5 separate regions of the Homo sapiens genome follow, and all the other regions are linked to region 4. Evidence: promoter capture Hi-C in 16 types of primary human blood cells and fetal thymus (Javierre and others, 2016). All regions are on one chromosome and are shown on one strand. The core of a region is centred on a gene start or on the middle of the fragment in contact, and the rest is flanking DNA. Distances in the headings are between cores, read along the strand shown.

The links. The method cuts DNA at HindIII sites, captures the fragments that hold promoters and counts their contacts. A CHiCAGO score of 5 or more calls a contact.
Region 1: the fragment with the promoter of PDCD7 here is called in contact with the fragment with the promoter of RBPMS2 in region 4 in 13 of 17 cell types (neutrophils, activated CD4 T cells, fetal thymus and 10 more); the score reaches 14.4 in neutrophils.
Region 2: a fragment that was not itself captured here is called in contact with the fragment with the promoter of RBPMS2 in region 4 in 1 of 17 cell types (endothelial precursors); the score reaches 6.4 in endothelial precursors.
Region 3: a contact is called between the fragment with the promoter of SLC51B here and the fragment with the promoter of RBPMS2 in region 4, in 8 of 17 cell types (neutrophils, erythroblasts, M0 macrophages and 5 more). The highest score is 8.4, in neutrophils.
Region 5: a fragment that was not itself captured here is called in contact with the fragment with the promoter of RBPMS2 in region 4 in 1 of 17 cell types (M2 macrophages); the score reaches 5.2 in M2 macrophages.

The regions. Positions count from the first base shown.
Region 1 is chr15:65,132,482-65,135,314 of GRCh38, reverse strand. It overlaps PDCD7 (programmed cell death 7), which reads left to right and starts at 1,507. Exons shown (of 5, transcript NM_005707.2): 1 at 1,507-2,403. The coding sequence starts at 1,534. RefSeq lists an enhancer at 1,222-1,321 and silencers at 1,612-1,821, 1,882-2,281. The HindIII fragment of the contact is 3,462 bases long and covers 755-2,833 here.
Region 2 is chr15:65,068,118-65,070,817 of GRCh38, reverse strand. It overlaps a transcript of RASL12 not described here. Among named protein-coding and RNA genes, the nearest start is that of RASL12, 1.5 kb to the right of the region's middle. The HindIII fragment of the contact is 2,380 bases long and covers 81-2,460 here.
Region 3 is chr15:65,044,074-65,046,840 of GRCh38, reverse strand. It overlaps SLC51B (SLC51 subunit beta), which reads right to left and starts at 1,454. Exons shown (of 4, transcript NM_178859.4): 1 at 1,259-1,454. It also overlaps a transcript of RASL12 not described here. The HindIII fragment of the contact is 5,268 bases long and covers 1-2,767 here.
Region 4 is chr15:64,774,246-64,776,945 of GRCh38, reverse strand. RBPMS2 (RNA binding protein, mRNA processing factor 2) reads left to right here and starts at 1,357. Exons shown (of 8, transcript NM_194272.3): 1 at 1,357-1,713. The coding sequence starts at 1,627. RefSeq lists enhancers at 1-649, 650-1,496 and a silencer at 932-1,181. The HindIII fragment of the contact is 6,915 bases long and covers 1-2,700 here.
Region 5 is chr15:65,100,531-65,103,548 of GRCh38, reverse strand. It overlaps UBAP1L (ubiquitin associated protein 1 like), which reads left to right. Exons shown (of 6, transcript NM_001163692.2): 3 at 865-1,443. Among named protein-coding and RNA genes, the nearest start is that of UBAP1L, 13 kb to the left of the region's middle. The HindIII fragment of the contact is 1,624 bases long and covers 530-2,153 here.

The sequences.
Region 1 (2,833 bases), core at 258-2,757, 360 kb before region 4:
AAAATTAGCCAGGCATGGTGGTGGGCACCTGTAATCCCAGCTACTCGGGAGGCTGAGGCAGAAGAATGGCATGAACCCAGGAGGCAGAGCTTACAATGAGCCAAGATCACGCCACTGCACTCCAGCCTGGGCGACACAGGGAGACTCTGTCTCATAAAAAAAAAAAAAGAAAGAAAGTGGCCAGGTGTGGTGGCTCACACCTGTAACCCCAGCACTTTGGGAGGCCAAGGTGGACGGATCACCTGATGTAAGGAGTTTACGACCAGCCTAGCCAGCATTGTGAAACCCCCTCTCTACTAAAAACACAAAAATTAGCCAGGCGTGGCAGCAGGGGTCTATAATCCCAGCAACTGACTAGGGAGGCTGAGGCACCAAGAATAACTGGAACCTGGGATGCAGTGGTTGCAGTGAGTGGAGAGTGCGTCATTGCACTCCAGCCTGGGTGACAGAGGGACTCTGTCTCAAAAAAAGTGGGGGGTGCACGGGACTTGGTTGACCTGGATGGCATGCAAGGGGTGGGGAGGGACCAAGGAGGTGCTGGGTCTATGGGACTTGCTCCTATGTATCCATCAGTGATCTGGTTGGCGCCATGGAGGCTGGGGCGAAGGCGGAGGGGGGGTGGGGGGTAGCGGGGAGCTAGGTTGTAAATTGACAGTTGTCCCCAGGCAATCCCCTGGTATGGGAAAGTTCCAGAGGTCCCTGGTTTAAGCTTCGGTCCTTGGAACTAATAAGCGAACACATAATTAGATAAGCTTACAGTGTAGAGAGTGTCTGGTGGAGAGAAGGTAAAGGTTAATTGGATTTTTTTTTTTGACAGGTGTCATTCTGTCGCCCAGGGTGGAGTGCAGTGGCGTTATCGTGGCTCATTGCAGTCTTTACCTCCCAGGGCTCAGGTGATCCTCCCACCTCAGCCTCCCCAATGGCTGGGACTACAGGCCGATCTCGCCTGCCTCGGCCTCCCAAAGTGCTGGGATTACAGACGTGAGCCACAGCACCCACCCTATAATTGCATTCCTAAAGAGCTAAATAGGAGGTGGGGTGAAAGGAGAAAAGTAAAAATAATTCATTTTTCTAAGAAAATGGGTAGTTGGTCACACTCCTATTTACTAGGGCCTTTGCACATGTTCTCATCTGCACTGTGCTTCCCTCTCTTTTTCTATTTAACTATTTATCTTCCAGATCTCAGCTGCAGCCGCAGTTTCTTAGGATAACCTTCTCCAACTTCTCGAAGATACTCACCATGATTAATTGATTAGTGTGTTATACTAGGCAGATAGTTCCACGAAGAGAAGCTCTGTATCTCTCAGTCTCACTGTATGCGGAGTGGGTAGCTCTGCACCTAGGATGCTCAATAAGAACGGTATTTATGAACTGAACGACAGAAGGTTGAACGACTGCCCACTTATGCACTGAGCCTTCCGGAGGGACGAGTCTACAGGGGTCGCGCGTCGTAACGACGTCACTTCCGTCGGAAGGTTCTCATGAGGAGCCACTCAGATTCCTGTCACTTCTCAAAGCATCTCCGTCGTGAACATGGCCCTGCCACCATTCTTCGGCCAGGGTCGCCCAGGCCCACCGCCCCCGCAGCCGCCGCCTCCTGCTCCTTTCGGCTGTCCGCCACCGCCGCTGCCCTCCCCGGCTTTCCCGCCGCCTCTCCCCCAGCGGCCCGGCCCTTTTCCGGGGGCCTCCGCCCCCTTCCTTCAGCCTCCGCTGGCTCTGCAGCCCCGAGCCTCCGCGGAGGCCTCCCGCGGCGGAGGCGGCGCTGGCGCCTTCTACCCGGTGCCACCACCGCCGCTGCCTCCTCCGCCGCCCCAGTGTCGGCCCTTCCCGGGGACCGACGCCGGCGAGCGGCCGCGGCCACCGCCTCCCGGCCCGGGGCCGCCCTGGAGCCCGCGGTGGCCTGAGGCGCCGCCGCCGCCGGCCGACGTGCTCGGGGATGCGGCCCTCCAACGCCTGCGCGACCGGCAGTGGCTGGAGGCGGTGTTCGGGACCCCGCGGCGGGCAGGCTGTCCGGTGCCCCAGCGCACGCATGCCGGGCCCAGCCTTGGCGAAGTGCGCGCGCGATTGCTCCGGGCTCTGCGCCTGGTGCGGCGGCTGCGCGGCCTGAGCCAGGCCCTGCGCGAGGCCGAAGCCGACGGCGCGGCCTGGGTCCTGCTGTACTCCCAGACCGCGCCGCTGCGCGCGGAACTGGCCGAGCGGCTACAGCCGTTGACCCAGGCTGCCTATGTGGGCGAGGCGCGGAGGAGGCTGGAGAGGGTCCGGCGCCGCCGGCTGCGGCTTCGCGAGAGGGCCCGGGAACGCGAGGCCGAGCGGGAGGCAGAGGCCGCGCGGGCAGTGGAACGCGAGCAGGAGATTGACCGCTGGAGGGTGAAGTGTGTGCAGGAGGTGGAGGAGAAGAAGCGGGTGAGAGCAGCGGCCGCTCATGGGGGTAGGAGTGGTGGTGGTTGGAACCTGGAGCAGCAGGAGGCTTTAAACTTCCATTTCCCAGGGCTAAGCCTCTGTTTTACGCGCAAAATGAAGCGATAGCTAACCTTCCCAGCTCATACCACCATGTTAATTTTGTGTTAATGATGTGTGGTACACAAAAGTTCCAGGTGCACTGTAAAATCCTGTAAACACAAAGTATAGGATTACACGGTGGCACTGCACGAATGACAGGTCTCCCCTATCCTGCTCCAACATTGTCCACTTACTCTCAAAACCAGTAAGTGTCTAGTTCCTTGTGTCTTGTACTGCCCTAGGTGGTTTTAAGAATACAAAATACAGGCCGGGCGCGGTGGCCCACGCCTGTAATCCCAGCACTTTGGGAGGCGGAGGCGGGTGGATCACGAGG
Region 2 (2,700 bases), core at 21-2,520, 290 kb before region 4:
ATCATTCGACAACCACAGAAGTGGTTGTCATGTTGTGCCTCCAGAAGAGGCAACCACATCGCGAAAGGGTACCAAAAGCTTAGCTTTATATGAAAGGGCTCCTGGGGGTTGGGTGGCAAGGGTAGGTCCTGCCGTCAGGAAAACCTCACAGGCCCTACGTGTCTAGACCTATATTTGCTCCAGTCGTTCACTCCAGAGGTATCTATTGAGCACCTGCTGCATGCCCACTGCTGGGCCTGGTGCCACATCCTCTAGATTTTGAGTGCCTGGGGGCCTCCTATGAGACCCTTGATGAGGGTTGGGGGTAGAGGGTAAGGAGAGTTGGGTTACCTGCCCTAGCAGAATAACCTCTCTCTTGATCTGAAGTGTACAAACTTCTGGTCACTAAACGGTTATGACTTCTTTGTAGGTGGATGAGAAATGTGTGCTATTTATATCCAGAGGAGTAGACAGAACTAACCTCCACTTCCTTGGGCCATGGGCCAAGCTCTGGATAGGACACATGTTATCTAATATACTTATTGATATTGTCCCTGTTTTATTTTATTTTGAGACAAGGTCTCACTCTGTCACCCAGGCAGGAGTGCAGTGGCACAAATACAGCTTATTGCAGCCTCCATCTCCTGGGCTGAAGCTATCTTCCCACCTTGGCCTCCCATGTAGCTGGGACTATAGTTGCATGCCAACATACCCAGCTAATTTTTTTATATGCGTCTGTAGAGACAGGGTTTCACCATGTTGCCCAGGTTTGTCCCTATTTTGAAGATGAGGAACAGAGACCCAGAAGGGCAAAGTAGTTTATTCCAGGGTCTGACAGTAGCAGCCCCTGGGTGAGGAAACTGGGGATGGAGAAAAGGATAGGTCGCAGCCATGAGGTGGGCACTGTTTTCCTCCCAAGCCTCAGAGAAGGGGCAGACTTTGAGCAATGAGCTGTCACAGTTGAGGGCCCCAGTAACCAGGTGGCCACCAGCTCAAATAATCTCTGAACTGGAAGAGAATTAAGGGTCATCTTACTGCAACATTCGAGTCATGAAGGCGTCTCTTCTCTAACACTTCCTTGACGTGGTCACTCCCTTGGTTGCTGCCAGTGTCAGGGGAGAGGGGTTGAGTTCCACCAAAGACAGTCCCTTCTAACTATGGACAGTCAGATGGTTACAGAGTTCACCCTCAGACTGAGCTAGAATCTTGCAGCTCCCATCTCCTGGTTGGTCAAGTTTTAAAGATGAGGAAACAGACCACATAGAGGTCAAGTAACATCCCAGCATCACACAAGCTGAGAAGTAGCAGAGCTTAAGTTTACATGCAGTTGGGCCCGTGCAGGCCCACAGTTAGCCCTGCCTCCAGCAGTTGTCCATTGAGATTGGTTCTATCCCCAAAGGCCCCATCTGGAACCAGTCTGTCTTCACAGAATGGGGCCAGCCCAGGGATGTGACTGGAACTTGGCTCCCACTTTCTCAACTCCTACAACTCAAAGGAAAACCCTTGGCCATTAGCTGTGTGACTAATTCTGGCCTGAGAGTGTAATCTAAACAAATTCCACCCACTACCTTAATAACACAGCTGGTTTACCATGATTTCCCCAAAACACAACTAGGCTGAGTCAATATTCATGTCCTGGCCAGGAAAATAATTGTTCTTCTTTGAAGAGTCGTTATTACCATCCAGCTCTGACCCTGGGCCCTGCCTGCACACCTGGTTTTCCATGGTTCCTCTGTGGGTGGGTGGGTAGATGAGTTAACCATCTGCGGGAAGGGGAAGGAGAAGGGCTGCCGTGAGAGGTCTCTGAGGCTCCCATGCCTTTCCCTGCTCTAACCTGGAGCGTACTCCAGAAGAGATGCCTCACAGGGTTCTAGAATGTACGCAGGCCTGGAGCCCAGGGCTGATTCTGTCACTCTCTATTTTGCTTCATTTTCCCCTTCCTTCAGTATTTATATATGGGGACACCGAAGCCCAAAGAAGCAAGGTGACTTGCCCAAGATTACTCTAGGGCAGGAGCTAGCACTAGATCCTAAGTGTCCAGGTTCGTGGTGTGGGCCCTTTGCCCTGTCTTTGGTATGACCAGATTTACCCTGAGTCCCAAGGGGAATGACCAGGGGACCCCTGCCAGGCTCACCACCAATCCCAGAATTGCTGTAGGCAAGAGGCAGTGCCAGGTTTTAGAACAAACACCCCATTTACACAACAGGCCACAAACACATGCAACTCATTAGCTCCCATTAGGGAGAGACAGTAATTCAGAATGGATTAGGTTTCTTGAAGCTGAACCCATATTGGCCCTGAAATCTTAGTGAGGGGTTCTCTCCGCCCCGCCCCCTCTCCCAGAAGCCTGGGTTCCGAATGGGTTCTGCAGTGAGGCCTCTAGAGTCTCCACAGCAAAGGGCAGAATAATGTGATTGGGGATATAGAGTGCCAAGGCTGAGCTAAAGAAAGGGCAAGGCTTGGAATTGAACCCAGGAAGCTTCCTGGAGGAGGAGGCGGGGCTGGCTTGGTAGAACAAAGGGAGGGGTGGATTTTCTTGCTGGTGAAAAGAGATTGAGTGGGAGGTTCAGGGAAGAGTGCAAACATCCTTCCCCTCTCTCCCCCTAGCCCTGGGGCTCCTTCTCTGCTCCTTCCCGGCCGGGTTTGGGGGCGCTCGGGAGGGTGACGGCAGGGTCCTCGAGGCCCAGCCCGGCGGTGGGGGCGCGGCCGGCAGGAGCTCCC
Region 3 (2,767 bases), core at 205-2,704, 270 kb before region 4:
CCCGGGCACAGGCGATCCTCTCACCTCAGCCTCCTGAGCAGCTGGTACAACAGGCATGTGCCACCACGCCCGGCTAATTTTTGTATTTTTTGTAGCGATGGGGTTTCATCATCTTGCCCAGGCCAGCCTTGAACTTCTGAGTTCAAGCGACCTGCCCACCTTGTCCTCCCAAAATGCTGGGATTACAGGCATGAGCCACCGCGCCTGGCCAAAATATGTTTAAAATATGTTTAATATTGTTACAGTAAACACATACCAACCAACAAAAAACCAAAATGACAAATTGGATACAAATCCAGAACCGAGAGTCAGCCCTCCTCAGCTATGTTAGATGCCACAGAAACAAGCGACATATTTCTTTCTTTTTTTTGAGACAGAGTTTCACTCTTTTTGCCCAGGCTGGAGTGCAATGGCATGATCTCAGCTCACTGCAACCTCCACCTCCCAGGTTCAAGTGATTCTCCTGCCTCAGCCTCCCAAGTAGCTGTGATTATAGGCATCCACCACCATGCCCAGCTAATTTTGTATTTATTTATTTAGAGACAGAGTTTCACTCTTGTTGCCCAGGCTGGAGTGTAGTGGCACCATCTCAGCTCACTGCAACCTCCGCCTCCCGAGTTCAAGTGATCCTCCTGCCTCAGCTTCCTGAGTAGCTGGGATTATAGGTGCCCGCCACCACATCCAGCTAATTTTTGTATTATTAGTAGAGACAGCATTTCACCACATTGGCCAGGCTGGTCTCGGAACTCCTGACCTGAGGTGATCCATCTGCCTCGGCCTCCCAAAGTGCTGGGATTACAGGCATGAGCCACCGCACCCGGCCAATTTTGTATTTTTAGTAGAGATGGGGTTTCACCACGTTAGCCGGGGTGGTCTCGAACTCCTGACCTCAGGTGATCGGCCTGCCTCGGCCTCCAAAAGTGCTGGAATTACAGGCGTGAGCCACTGCGCCCGGCCAAAGACATATTTCTATCAAAGCACGTATCCAGTTTGCTTCTAAAGTGAGCATCATATTGTCATTTGCATGATTAAATTAAACTTTATGCCTTATTTGCATTTTGTTAGTTTTGCCTTTAATGTTCTTTTCTTGTTCCAGGATCCCATTTAGGATGTCATACTGCATTTAGTTGTCTTGTCTCCTTAAGCCCCTCTGGGAGATCTCTGCATTTTAAACAGGGCTTAACCATCGTGCCATTGGACTGTGACTTCTGCCAAAGACCTGGGCCACCCATCCCCAAGGCAAGATGAGGACACTCACCCCGGATCCTGAGTTCCTGACGACTGCCTTGATCTGCTGTTGGGAGCAGCACCGATTTCTGTATCTTCCTTTTCCTCCTCTTTATGGGAGAACAGGATAGTCTTTGCACTTGAGCTCTCCCAGGCAGTAACAGCTGTCACTTAGGGGACAGTGCCTGGAGAGCCTGCGGCAGCTGGACCCATCTGGTAGCTCTGGCCTTAGCACACGCCCAGGCCTGGAGCCTTCTGTATCACTCCAGGGTGACTGACCTCTTGAATGAGTGCACTCAGAGTGCAAACAGGCTCCACCTGACTTTCACAATCCGAAAGCACCAGTAGCCCAGTGCTTTCATTGTTATGTGTTGGCCTCAAGTAAAGAGAAAACATCCGGATCCTCTGGACAGGCAGGAGAATGGACTGCAGAGGACCTGCGGTCTGTGGGTTCCATCACTGCAGGGGGATATGTAGTGTGCCCACTCCAGGTCTCTATTGCCCAATATCATCAATATTTAACCACGGAGCAGGGAGCCAGGCTGGCCTTTTACAGCCTGTGCTTTCTCATAGTGAAGGTCATGGCATGATGTGAATTCCTCACAAGGAGCTGTAAAATATGACCTTTGGAGGTGGGGGTTGGGAAAGGCTGTGTGAGCACCAGTGACCCAGAGAGTAGGAAGCAGGCCAAGGCAAGTAACTTGATGGGGAAGCAGGAATGAGGTGCTCCTCCCACCTGACCAGCACCATTCAACTCTGATAGTCTATGGACTTTTCCACCAACTGGCTCCGTGCATCTTAGGCAATCATTGTTGGTTTAGCAAGGAGTGGGCTTATGTGAAATAAGCCCACTCCTTTTTTTTTTTTTTTTTTTTTTTTGAGATGGAGTCTCGCTGTGTCACCCAGGCTGGAGAGCAGTGGCACAATCTTGGCTCACTGCAACCTCCACCTCCCCGGTTCAAGCAATTCTCCTGCCTCAGCCTCCTGAGTAGCTGGGACTACAAGTATGTGCCATCATGCCCGGCTAATTTTTTCTATTTTTAGTAGAGATGGTGTTTCACCGTGTTAGCCAGGATAGTCTTGATCTCCTGACCTCGTGATCTGCCCACCTCAGACTCCCAAAGTGCTGGGATTACAGGCATGAGCCACCACGCCCAGCCGCCCACTCTTATTTCTTACTTCACAAATGAAACAGAGGCTGAGTGAGGTCACATGTCAAGCCCAAACTCCTCTATGAGTTAAACATTAGTCAACAGTGTGTACTGTGTGTGCATGGGGCAGAGGAAAGAAGACCCAACAGGGAATCTAGGGGCTGCCTGGAACTCCAGCTCCTCCTCATTTTGTAATGCATTCATTTATTCATTGAATAAATGTTACTTGAGCATCTACTGTGTAGATACATGGTAAATAAGACAGGTGAGGGCCCTGCTCCATTGGAGCTCAAACTCCAGGGGAGATAGCCAACAAAAAAGTAAGCAAAAGCATAATTAAAAGATAATTATAGCAGTGATCATTTCTGTGAATATCTTAAACAACATAA
Region 4 (2,700 bases), core at 108-2,607:
GGTTCTGGGGGCTCAGGCACTTGTCCACGGTCTGGGATCCTAACCAGTCCGTGACTGCAAATCCAGCTTTTCTTTTTTCTTTTCTTTTTTTGAGACGGAGTTTCGCTCTTGTTGCCCTGGCTGGAGTGCAATGGCAAGATCTCGGGTCACCGCAACCTCCGCCCCGTCCAGGAGAAGGGGCACTGAGGAGGGACCCAGTTCTCCCGCGGCTCTGCCGGATTCAGGCTGCAGCGCTTCCAGCGCTCCCCGAGGTGGGTGCGGGTTTCTACTGTGGCAGCAGGGCGGGCCCCCATCGGCTGGGTTTTCAAATAGAAGAGAAAACCGACCCAGAGGCCGCGCCCTACTGACCTGCGCGGGGGTGCGGGGGGAGTCACGACGACCTCCCCCACCTCCCCCAGCCTCTAGGCTATTACATCCGTCCCCAGCCTTCGGGCTCAGAATAGGAGGCAGGGAAAGGTGTGAGGGGCACTGAGGTCGGGGGAGGAGCGAGAAGACCCGAAAGCCAGGCGTGTTGAGGGCAAGGTGGGCAACAGAACCTTCTTGGTCATTCGAGGCAGCCCTCGCTAATGACCATTGGGGTCCCAACACTCGAATCCCCACCTAAGTCCTATTCAGATAGTGACTGGGAGTGGGAAGGGAGTTTGAGATCCTAAGTCCCACCCTCTGGGCTGGGAGCCTGAGGCCAGAGAGGGGAAGTGATTTCCTCAAGGTCACTCAGCAAAACAGCGCCCAGCCCGGGCCAAAGCTCAGGTGTCTCCCAACCCCCTCCCCCCGGCCATCACCCCCAGAACTCGGTCCCCCGGAGCTGAGGTCTGCGCGACTGGATTTAGGGGCAGAATGAGTGCGTCGGGAACCCCAAAACCCTAGATCAAGATACAAGGGGAGTCGACGGCCCGGAAACCTCGCTGCGGGTGCCCTAAGCGCGAGGCCGCCCGGGCAGGGCCGCCCAGGGACCGGGGCGCTGGGTGCGGGGCACGGGGCTCCACCTCCCGCGGGCTGGGGCGCGCAGCGCGCGGCCCCTTTAAGAAAGTTCGCCGGGCGAGTTCATCAAAGTTTAAAAACTCGCCGTGGAGAAGGGCGCGGGGGAAGAGGAGAGAGGGAGAGCGCTGACCCAGGCGAGAGAGAGGGGAAAGGCCCGGCCGGAGGCCGGCGCCCCGCGGCCGGGGCCGGGGCGAGCCCACGGTGGGCGGTGGGGATTGGCTGCGCGTTCCCCCGGAGACCGCGCGGCGGGCGGGGGAGGGGGCTGGCCGGGCCCCAGCTGAGGCCGGTTCCGGCCCCGCCCCCCGCCGCCGGCGCCCGCCCCCTCCCCCGGCGCCCGCCCCCCGCCGCCGCTGCCGCCGCCGCCGCCGCCGCGGCGCACTCGCCGGTCGCAGTGAAAAGGCGGAGGCGGCGGCCCCTCCGGCTCCCACTGCCTCCCCCGCCGCACCCCCTCCCCACCTTCCGCACCCGCCAAACTTGATGTGACCCTGGCCCGACGCGGAGGCTGCCCCTCTCACTGCCCCGTGGGTCCCCCGCCACCCGCTCCGCACCCGCGAGCGCACCGCTCCCCGCGCCCCTTCCCACTTCCCGCGGGGCCGGCGCCGCGCTCGCCCTCGCGTTCCTTCCCGCCGCCCCCTCCCCCGCACCATGAGCAACCTGAAGCCGGACGGCGAGCACGGCGGCAGCACCGGCACCGGCTCCGGCGCGGGCTCCGGCGGCGCCCTGGAGGAGGAGGTGGGTCTGTGGCCCCGGGACTTGCCGGGTGAAGCGCACGCCAGGCGGGCGCGGGAGAGGGCGAGCGGGGCCTGCCGCGCCTCGCGGGGCCGGGGTGGCCATCGCTCCCGGCGCCTTCCCGCCGCTGCCCTCTCGCCCGGGTAGGAGCGGCCCGTGTCCGCGGGCGGGAGCGTGCGGCCTGGACTGCCCCGCCGGACAGGCATTGTCTCCCCGCCCTCTCGGGCTCGAGGCGGGCCGCGCGCGCCGGCCGCCGTCCGGGCGTCCCGCGGTGGGCGAGATGCGCCGCGTCCGTTCCATGCCTGCCGCCCGCGCGCCCCTTGCTCCCCACCCCGTAGCCGCTCGCCGCCCTCCTCCGAGGCGCACCTCCTGCGTGGCCAGGACCCCGCCTCGGCGGCACGGAGCGGAGCGGGATTAGCACGGCCCGAGGGCGGCACCCTCACTCCACTGCCTTTTCCGCCCTGACCCCCTCCCCGTGACCTTGGAGGCCTGGGCCGGCCGGCTCCTCGGTTCCTGCGAGCTGTTGTCATGGGGGTGGGCGGGCTTTCTTCACAGCCCCAGAACCTGGGCTTTGGCAGAGGTGAGCCCACAATTTAATTAGTTTGGAAGATGACTAAAGACACTCAGTTCGTCCTTCTCCTCTCTCTGGGTTTGTCCTGGCAACCAAGCCAGGACCCCAAAGCTGGCCTGGGTGGGATCCTGCCAGGAGGGGCGAAATCATCTCGTCCACCGGCCATGTGCGAAAGGGAGGGAGTGTAAGGCGGCTCCGTGGAACCACCAGCAGCTGGGTGGTTAATGGATGGTAGGGAGGATGTGTGTGCGGGGTGGGGTGCTGGATAAAAGCCTCAAAGATATCAGTGAATAGGGACGAGGAGCTAGGCTGGCGGAGACAAGAACTGGAGTAGAAGGGGACAGGCTTCGCAGGGCCTCTGGCCTCTGCTGCGTCATTCTAGGGGTGAGAGAGCCTTCCTGCCCCTGCCCTGGCATGTT
Region 5 (3,018 bases), core at 92-2,591, 330 kb before region 4:
TAGCCTCTTTCTTCCTTAACTGGCCATGGTAGAACAAATTGCCTTTAAAACTTTTACATATTTTTGATGGAGTCTTATGTTTGCTGTTCTTAATTTTAAAGGTAGGGAACAGGAATATGTCATTTTTGCCTCATTTTATAAACTCTAGAGTTAGATTATTTATGTGGACTCCAGATTGCTTTTTTAGGTGGTCTGATACGAAGTGGAGAAAGCACTACAATCAGGTCCACCGACAGGAAAACCAGCTCAGCCACTCACTGCCAATCTAACTTCTAGCAAACTCAATGTTCTGAGCTCCATTTTCATAATATGGAAATAGGAATGACACTAGACCATACTAAGTAGAGTTCCACAAAGATTAGTGGTTATGACATTTCCAGGACCCCAAAGTAACCTTGGTGGCAGCAAAGGGGCTGGGGACAGGAATCACTCCATAGGGAGGTTTGTCTGCCTGGGCGGGCCTCCAAGGCAGACTACTCATTGGCAAACTGCTGGGCTCAGGTGAAAGCTTCTTTGCTAAGAATAAGCTTTATTGGAGAAAATTTTTAAGTAGTTTTTGCTCAACTACATACTGAATGGCAAAGGGATTTAGATGTTGGGTTTCATTACATTTCATTCGACTGACGAATTCATCACTTTGTCATTTATGCCAGTTTGCCATTAAACTGTTATTGGTATCCATCGACCACAGTGTTAGCTAAAACCCAGGGTAGAGTGGGCTGTGATGGAAGCCCGGGGCTCAGAATCTGACGCTGTCCAGGCTTAGAGAGTCTCTGGCTGAACAGGGTCCCCCAGGCCAGGGGTTAGTGTTGTGCCCCCGGGGTCCTGGTTTGCCCTGGGCTTTACGTCGCCTTCTTTCCGCAGCACGACTTCAGCCTGGAGAGGACGGCACTCTTCTGGGTGGAGGCCGCCGGCCAGGGACCCAGCCCGTACCAGTGCGGTGACCCGGGGACAGCGTCAGCCCCTCCAGCCTGGCTCTTGCTAGTCAGCCCCGAACATGGGCTGGCGCCTGCGCCCACCACAATCAGAGACCCGGAGGCCGGACACCAGGAGAGGCCGGAGGAGGAGGGTGAGGACGAGGCAGAAGCCTCCTCTGGCAGCGAGGAAGAGCCGGCCCCCAGCAGCCTCCAACCGGGCTCCCCGGCGAGCCCCGGCCCCGGCCGTCGCCTGTGCTCGCTGGACGTGCTACGCGGCGTGCGGTTGGAGCTGGCAGGGGCGCGGCGGCGGCTCTCCGAGGGGAAGCTGGTCTCCCGGCCCCGCGCCCTCCTGCATGGCCTCCGCGGCCACCGCGCGCTGAGCCTGTGCCCGAGCCCTGCGCAGTCCCCCAGGTCTGCATCACCCCCGGGGCCCGCGCCCCAGCACCCCGCCGCCCCCGCGTCGCCCCCGCGGCCCTCCACGGCAGGCGCCATCCCCCCGCTGCGGAGCCACAAGCCTACGGTCGCGGTAAGGATTCTGCCCGCCCCTCCAAGGCCGCCAATCAGCAGCCCAGGCCCCATAATCTGGGTGTCCAGCCCAGCCCGCAGCCTCGGTCCCCTACTCCACGCGCTCCTGCATCCTCCCTTGACCTGCTCCCACCTGGGCCTGTACCGTGTTGTCCTCCTGCGGCCCTTTGACTAGAGTAGAGTAGTCCCTGCTCAGAAGCCCCCATTCCCCGCGTTTCCCACTGTGCCTGCCTTGCTTTTTTTTAGGGAGCAGGTCACAGTGGTTTTAATTATCCAGGACCTGTCTCTTCTAAACGAGGTTGAGCTCTTTTAGGGCAGGGACTGGATCGCACTGATTTTTGTTTCCAGAGCACCCAGCTGCCGACTTGACCCATAGGGGGCGCTCAGTGGATGTCTGTTGAATTGATGAACGCAACGCAAATCTAGGGCTTCCCACTGGCTGAGGTTTGCTATAAGCTAGGGGAGCTGGAGGCTCAATCAAGGAATATTCAATGCACAGTTACTTCCTGCCAGACACTGGGTTTGGGAGTGTCAAAACCACAGGACATGAAGAGTTGGCCAAGAGGGTTGTGGGACCAGGCCCTGAACTGTACAGCGGGATCAGGTGTTGAGGGAGCGTCAGGGCTGCAATAGGCTGAGAAGGCTTCAGGACGGAGGAAGTGAACCCTGAAGAGCAGGGAGAAGTGACCCTACAGTGAAACCACAGAAGCTTAAGCCTCAGGCTCCTCCCTTTGTCTCTTCCAAGGCCTTGTGCCCAATTTTGTATTCATAATTGTGTGTTCTTTTTCTGTGAGGTGCCTTCCAAATTATGTAAGTATCAGACTCCACAAAACATGGGGTGGGTCAGGATTGGCAGCAGAAGGTGGCAGCGGGGCACAGCTTTCTGCCCCCCAGCAGCCCCACAGTCAGGCCAGGAGATGCTGCAGAATAAGGCCAAGGTAGAATTCAATCTGCAAGACAGAGACCTGAGGTCTGGTTTCTTACATGCACCGGCTTGTGACCTTAGGCAAGTCACTGAACCACCCCTTCTCTACCTGCACTGTGAGCCAACAACCCTTCACACGGTTGTTTAGAGCATACATAGTAGAGAAGAGGCTCTGTAAGCGTGATGTGCCATGCCCACATCCAAGACCAGATGTTGATGCCAGGATGGCTCTTCCCTGGCCAAGATGAATTTAACTCTCATAACAACCCTGTGGGGGTGGGACAGTATTCTGTAGATGATGGAAATGAGGCACAGAGTGGCAAAGAATCTTTTTCAAGGACACAAGAGTAGACTCAGCTCCTAAACTTTGATGTTCTCCACCCTGGAGGTAATAAAGGGTAGACCCTAGGGTGAGGTCGTGGCAGGGAGAGCCCTGAGAAGATGCGTATGGGTGGGGATTCATGTGTGTTACATATACACTCCACCCCAAGAGCCAGGCGGCAGCTGTGTTTTCCTTGGGAGGAGGGGACAGGATGAAACGTTCAGGGCTGGCAGAGAGGTACTTCCTCATGGGAGAAGGTTCGGGGCGATGCCGGCCAAACCAATGGAAATGCCTTCAAGTCACCCTCCTTAATCCAGGGTGTGTTTCAA